2 separate regions of the Homo sapiens genome follow, and region 1 is linked to region 2. The links are contacts of gene promoters, found by promoter capture Hi-C in blood cells and fetal thymus (Javierre and others, 2016). All regions are on one chromosome and are shown on one strand. The core of a region is centred on a gene start or on the middle of the fragment in contact, and the rest is flanking DNA. Distances in the headings are between cores, read along the strand shown.

The links. The method cuts DNA at HindIII sites, captures the fragments that hold promoters and counts their contacts. A CHiCAGO score of 5 or more calls a contact.
Region 1: a contact is called between a fragment that was not itself captured here and the fragment with the promoter of RELL1 in region 2, in 1 of 17 cell types (fetal thymus). The highest score is 7.2, in fetal thymus.

The regions. Positions count from the first base shown.
Region 1 is chr4:38,853,116-38,856,828 of GRCh38, forward strand. TLR6 (toll like receptor 6) reads right to left here and starts at 3,702. Exons shown (of 2, transcript NM_006068.5): 1 at 3,646-3,702. The HindIII fragment of the contact is 1,497 bases long and covers 1,532-3,028 here.
Region 2 is chr4:37,684,012-37,687,706 of GRCh38, forward strand. RELL1 (RELT like 1) reads right to left here and starts at 2,365. Exons shown (of 7, transcript NM_001085400.2): 1 at 2,189-2,365. The coding sequence starts at 2,276. RefSeq lists silencers at 1,904-2,573, 2,754-3,063. The HindIII fragment of the contact is 3,799 bases long and covers 1,263-3,695 here.

The sequences.
Region 1 (3,713 bases), core at 1,030-3,529, 1.2 Mb after region 2:
AAACTATCGCAAGGACAAAAAACCAAACACCGCATGTTCTCACTCATAGGTGGGAAATGAACAATGAGAACTCTTGGACACAGGAAAGGGAACATAACACACTGGGGCCTGTCGTGGGGTGGGGGGAGGGGGGAGGGAAAGCATTAGGAGATATACGTAATGTAAATGACGAGTTAATGGGTGCAGCACACCAACATGGCACATGTATACATATATAACAAACCTGCATGTTGTGCACATGTACCCTAGAACTTAAAGTATAATAATAAAAAAAAAAGAATGCACACATTGTTCTTTCCGGAAGTTTTAACCACTGTAATAAAGAAAAAAAATGACAGGAAGAAATACTGAAATGAAGAAAGAAAATCATTATTATTTTTAGATTATAAGACTGTCAATGTGGAAAGCCAAAGAGAAGTCATTGAAAAAATGTTAGCACCAATAAAAGACTACAATAAAGTGGCCGTCACAAAATAAATTATTATCATTACTATTTTCTTAAACACTTTCTTTTTAAGAGACAGGGTTTTGTCCCACTGCCCAGGCTGGAGTGCAGTGGCACAATCATAGCTTAAGGTCCTGGGCTCATGCCATCCTCTCACCTCAGCCTCCCACGGAGCTGGGGTTACAGGTACAAGCCACTGCTCCTGGCAAAAATAAATTCTATTTTGAAAACAAATCCCTCAATTATCCAAAAATAGCAGGTTATCAAATAAATTTTAGTATCTCTGTATAATTAAATAGTACTATGTAGCCTTTAAAAATAATAAAAATCGAATTGCATGAAAATATTTTCACTATATGTGACAAAAAGCAGTTTATTTAAAAAGTACCAAAGTAAATATGTACCTATGCAAGTAGAAAAATTAATAAGATACATACCAAGATATGAACAGTAATTATCTTTGCACAGTAAGATTATAATGGAACTTTATTTTCCTCTTAGTTTTTATCTATATTTTTCAAACTTTTAACATTCAAAATTAAGTTTACTGTACTATTTACTGAATAATTTGCCAAAAATCAATTGCCAATAATATGAATAATGTGCAATCTCACAAAAAATAAAACAGCACGTTAAATCAAAAAAGCACATAACATCTAGATGAAACTCATGATCTTGGATTAGATCTCAGTTAAGACAGACTTGCTATAAAACATATTCAGTAACAGAAGGAGGGGCAGATTCTATGATGGACCAGCCATTAGATGCTATTAAGAAATAAATTGTAATTTTTTATAATGTTATTTGGCTATTTTAGGAAAATGTAATTTTTTTAGAGATAGAGAATAAAGCTTTTAGAAATAGGTTTCCAGAATGCCTGTTATTTTTACTATAAGATATTTAAGCATAAAAAGAGGAAGGGGGTCAAAGGAGGACTCTTGTTTCTTAAAAGATTTTTTAAAAGGCAAGATTTTTTTTTCACCTATCAAATAGGGAAAATTAAAAAATATAATATCCAGGTTGGTAGGTGGAAACTAAAATAAGAACCCTCATTTACTACTTAGGCAGGAATGAAAAATTAGTACAAGCTTTCTAAAGGGTAATTTGGTAATTTACATAAATTTCTTAAAAATATACCTTCCTTTATTTTAGCAATTCCACTACAAGGAATTTTCTAAAGAAATAGTCAAAAATAACACACAGAAGATATGACTATAAGGATACTCATGACATAATGAAATATTGAAAAAATCAGAATGTCTAGTGTAGAAAATGATTAAATCAGTTATGTATAATTAAATAATAGCCTCAAATACTGTACTTTGAAAAAATGATAATGTTAAATGAATACAGTAATAGAAAATTATGGCCGGGCGCAGTGGCTCACGCCTCTCATCCCAGCACTTTGGGAGGCCAAGGCGGGTGGATCACGAGGTCAGGAGATCGAGACCATCCTGGCTAACGGTGAAACCCCGTCTCTACTAAAAAAAAATACAAAAAAATTAGCCGGGCGTGGTGGCGGGCGCCTGTAGTCCCAGCTACTCGGGAGGCTGAGGCAGGAGAATGGCGTGAACCCGGGAGGCGGAGCTTGCAGTGAGCCGAGATCGTGCCGCTGCACTCCAGCCTGGGCGACAGAGCAAGACTCCGTCTCAAAAAAAAAAAAAAAAAATTATATATGTAGTAAGACTCTAATTTTGCAAAATATGATTAAAACCTGACATATACGTAAAAGCTAGAGGACAAACAATGTGATGAAATATACCAAATACTAATAATAGTGGTTCTCTGAATCTCTGAATTATAGATGAATTTAATTTTCTTTCTTATACTTTCAGATATCCCTAAAATGTCTCATTTTGAATGTCCTTTATAATCCAAAAAAGTTATCGTAAGGCAATTTAAGAGTTGTCTTTATAGCTGTGTGAAAATATTTTATATTTAAAGAAACGTGCTTGTTTTATTTGGAATATTAAAATATAAAGATGGAGAACTTTCAGATAATAGTAGATAACTGGCATTCACAGATGAGGACCTACCCTACAGGTCCCCGGCAACCAGACCCACGGTGTCTGGGTTCATGGGACTGAAAATCAGTCACCAGGTGGAAAAGCTGGTCAGCTGTCCTTATGGTATCCTGCCACAAAAACGCAATATTCCTCCAGAGGCGTTCATACCCTGAGGCAGTTCCTAGGGAATACACTAAATGAACAAGATAGTAACTTTTCTATTTATTGGGAAAAAAGGAGGGAAAAATGGGAAGATGAGAGTGGAAGATTAGAGAGTTCACAGTTTTTTAAAGAAAGTAAAAATAAACAGGTAAATGCTCTTGATTTTTTAAATGCATCAAATAAAAAGGGTGAGGAAATAGATGAAATAAGCTACATTTCAGAAAAAAAGGGTAGACAAGACCTATGAAAATTAAAACTACAAGGAAGAAGAGAGCAGAAAAAAAATTAAGTGAAATAAGTGGAGGAAAGATCACATAATCAAGTTAACAAATAGGCAAGAAAAACATTGTTTCATTTGTCAAACTGAAGGTGGAAGGACCTGGAGGAAGGCAATTGCTACACTGTGCCAGATTCAAGCTTGTGAAGGGGCTTGGTCCCGGCCACTTCCTCCATTTAATAAATGTTTATTCAGAGTCTATTTTTCTGCCAGTGCCATGCTACGCACTAGGCACCAGGGATATAAATATGAATAGGACTGACATAATTCCTGCTTTCAAAAAGCTTATGAATTAGGGACAGACACAGACCAGCAAACTGTTACAGTGACAAACGACAAGGGAGATCAAACACACGTCTGCTGTAAAAACATATAATAAATAGGTGCCATATCAGTGGTATATAAAAATTACTGTTAAATGTTACTGAAAACAATAAACTAGAGAAAGACGAAAAGAGAAAATTCGCTGGGCCAAATCAGAAGAAATAAATAACATTAGTTTTGTTCCTTAATTATCACCACAAGCGCTAGTTGTTTTCTATCTTTTCAAGACAGCTGTAAAGACGCTGCTCTTCATCCTGCTCGTGAAATTCAAAGGACATTTGCAACATCTACAAAAAAAACCACTTCAAATCATTTTGCAAAAATTTCAAGGAAACATTACCTATTTCCTATATAATGAATGGTTAGCAAACTTGCTTACTTGAAGCACCTGTGCCATAATGTGAAAAAGCCACAGAAGTCTTTCTACTTACCAAGATCTCTTTTTCAGAAGAAGAGAAAATAACTTGTAAATGAACGGAAATACAATTGAAAATGCTTG
Region 2 (3,695 bases), core at 1,115-3,614:
CGGAGCTTGCAGTGAGATCGCGCCACTGCACTCCAGCCTGGGCGACAGAGCAAGACTCCGTCTCAAAAAGAAAAAAATAAATAAAAATAAAAATGCATACAAAGTACTCAACCCAAAGCCTGGCACACAGCAGGCACTCAACAGTATTTCCCATTCCTTTCCCTCTACTTCCCTATGCTCAAGGTACAAACATTAACACCATCTTTGGTTGCAAGGGGATCAGATGTTGGCTGGTCAGAGCATCTTCTCTTTACACACGCCTCAAGATACTGGCAAATTTGTGCTCTGTATCCTTTCCTTTTTAGACACCTGTTTCTTCTTCCGCATTAATTTTCATCAAAAAAAAAAAAAGGCTGTCATGCAATTAGATGAGAGCTTTCATCAGTCACATTCTAGTCCTGAGACCTGGGTGTTGCTCAGAGGTCAAACCAAACACACACCCACTCTAGGGATGGATTTCTCCTGCTGATGATGGCTAATTACATGCATCATGTGCTGAATTTTTAATAATTTTACTCCCAGATTAAACTCTTCCCCAGATTCTGTTGCAACTGACTCTAACCCTCTAATGAATGTCTCCAACCTCACATCCAAGTGGAACCTGATTATGCACCTATGTGTCCCAGCAATCAAACGCAGGATGAAAATCAAAATGAACCAGCAGGGCATGGTGGCTCATGCCTGTAATACCAGCACTTTGGGAGGCCGAGGCAGGAGGATCACTTGAGGTCGGGAGTTCGAGACCAGCCTGGCCAATATGGCAAAACCCCATCTCTACTAAAAATACAAAAATTAGCCGGGCATGGTGGCACATGCCTGTAATCCCAGCTGCTCAGAAGGCTGAGGCAGGAGAATCACTTGAACCAGAGAGCTGGAGGTTGCAGTGAGCCGAGGTTGTGCCACTGCACTCCAGTCTGGGTGACAAAATGAGCCCCTGTATCAAAATAAGGAAAAGAAAAAAAAAATTGTCCCATCCAGTAAAACATGTCACTAGCTGCCATTTCCCCAGGTGGATGGCTAACGGAAATACGGGCCTGCTAAAAAGACTCAGGAGACAATATTATCCATCTCCTTCCCTTCCAACCTGCTCTGGTTTCTATGAAAAAGTGAAGGCCAAACTGCTAAGTCAGTGTAAAAGTTGTAAGCGACTGAAATGTTCTCAGGAGGAAGAGTTTATGGATGTTTATGGAGGAGACAGTCACTGTTGAAAGGCTTCCAGTTGCTTATTATTTGGGCCTGAGGAGGAACCACCGCTGAAATCAAGCTTGGAAGAGCTTGCTGACGTCAGATTCCCAGCTGTAGTAACCCCAAATGGCCAAGTAAGTATGTTTTTTTTTTAACTGCAGCTGTTAGGTGGCAATTAAGAGGGGAAGCGGTGGTAAGGAATCCCTAGTGTCTGTAATTATAAAAGCAAGGATGTGACATAGGACTTCCATAAAACTTACACCTCCTCTTAAGATTGATTTCAATTAAAAACTGCTTCATCGTTGGTGACACTTTAGCATCTCTGTTGGTGGCTTCCTGCCCTGACCACACAAGGTTCCTTTCGTGACGACAGGAATCAACAAAAAGAAGAAAAAAATGTAAGTTTACCAACGCGCCTTCCCTTTTTCCGAGCCTGATTTATACAGGATATATGGGAAGAAATGTGGACTCCTTGACCTGTTACAAGAATCCATCAACCACCCAAATAAATGGAAACGTGGAAAGAGATTCAAAGTCCTCCAGGTTTTAGGATATTTTAAGGTATTTAAAAGGGAGAAGGAGGCGCCGACAGCGCACCCGGTGCTCTGTGTCACGATCTTCCGCTCGCGGCGCCTTTGAGGACAAGGGCGGCGGGAAACGGGTCCGCGGGGTTCCGAGGCGAGCGGCCGTGGAGGAAGCGCCCCCGAAGAAGGCCTGGTCCCTACGCCCCGCACTGCCCAGCGCTGGGGAACACAGATCCTCGGAGGAGGCCCCAGGGAGGGAAGGCGGGAGCGGGGCCCGCGGGAGGGGAGGGACGGGAGCCGTTGCCACGCACCGCGCCCTGCCCGGACCGCCGCGGGACAGCCAGTTGTTCAGTGCCGGGATCCCGCGGCTGTGCCAGAAAGCAGGACGCCGCGGGGCTGCCGTCCCGACCCCTCGCTTCCTTCCGCGCTCCCGGGACCGGGCTCAGCACCCGGCGCCCCGGCTACGACCGGACACTCACCCGGAGCCACCAGCGGCGAACTCACGGCGCCTCCCACGAAGACAGCAGCGGCTAGGACGGCGGACCCCGGGAGTGCCCGCGGAGCCATCGCCGCGTCGCTTCGCCCTCCTCCCCCAGGGCGCCGCGTCCCGCGCTCGGGAAGGCAGAGCCGCTCCGGAGCCGGCGGGCTGATCGAGTGGCTGGGCTGGGCCCCAGGGAGCGGCGAACCCCGCCCCGCCATTGCCCCGCCCCACGCCACACCCACCTCGGCTCGGTCCCGCCTCTCCCCGCGCGCCCCGGGCTCCACCTAAGCCGGCACGAGGTCCACTCATGGCTCCGCCCCCGACTCCCCGCCCACCTCAGCCTGATCCCGCCTCTCCCTGCCATTCCCGCTTCCTTTCCAAACCCCGCAGCAGCCTCAGCGGCGTAGCTAGGCCATGGACACGCCCTCTTTCTCCACCCACCTCAGCTTGGCCCCGCCTCTCCCTACCGAGCCCCGGACTCCACCTAAGAAGGCACGTGGCCCATCCATGGCCCCGCCCTTTTCCCCACCCACAGCTCAGCCCGACCCCTCCTCTCCCGCTTCCTTTCCAAACCCAGCAGCAGCCTTGGCGGCGCAGTTAGGCTATAGCCCCGCCCTTGCGCCCTGCCCACCGTGGCCCGGCCGTGCCTCTACTTGCCAGGCCCGCTTCCTTTCCAAGCCGGGCCGGGATTACGCGGGAGCCCGGGGCGGGGGGAGGGTCGCCCGGGTGCAACCTCCCTCGGTCGCTGGGACTAGGCGGGCGTGGGAAGAGAAAGAGGGAGCGCGCCCCGAGAAGCACTGGACAGTCAGAAGCGGCCAGCACTGGAGTGAGCACAGGCTTTTTTCGCTGTTGGCATGTCTATCCACTAGCATTCCCCTCGGTTGCAGATCTAGGGAGTGATGCTGTGCTGGATGTCACGTTCTGTTGTTTGGAAATTAGCAGAAAAGATAACTTAAATTTCTTCCTCTGTTTGTTTGCATTTAAGCTGCTCCTATTGGGGAAAATACCTCTATGCATTTTCAGGAACAACTTGCCTTTTTTTTTTAATCGTGTGCTTGTATTGCACCTTGCGCATACTCCCGCAAAGTAGGTCTTTCAATGCCCAGACGCTTATTATCTCCTCACATCCTCACATCAGCTCTGCGAGGTGACTATTAGAGGCCAGGGAGTAAACCCACGATGTCTGGGCCACCATGATAAATTGTAATTATCTCATTGTCATTGTGTTTGCTCGCTGCTGTGCCCTCAGCGCCTGGATGGAGGACAGACAGCACACGCTAAGAGGTCAGAAGTGTTTTCTGAAGTTGAATCATCTTCACAAGCATTAATAGGACTCAGAGGCTCTCTCTGAATAGTTCCTTTTTACTGCCCTGTAGAGACTGTTGTTACTGGGCCATCAAGCATTTGCTTGAAGGAAATTAGGGCAGGACTTGAGCAAATACTCAACACCAGCAAGAAGAGGGGGTGCATGGAGGCTGTGGGTTTTCACAGGATGGGTCTCATCC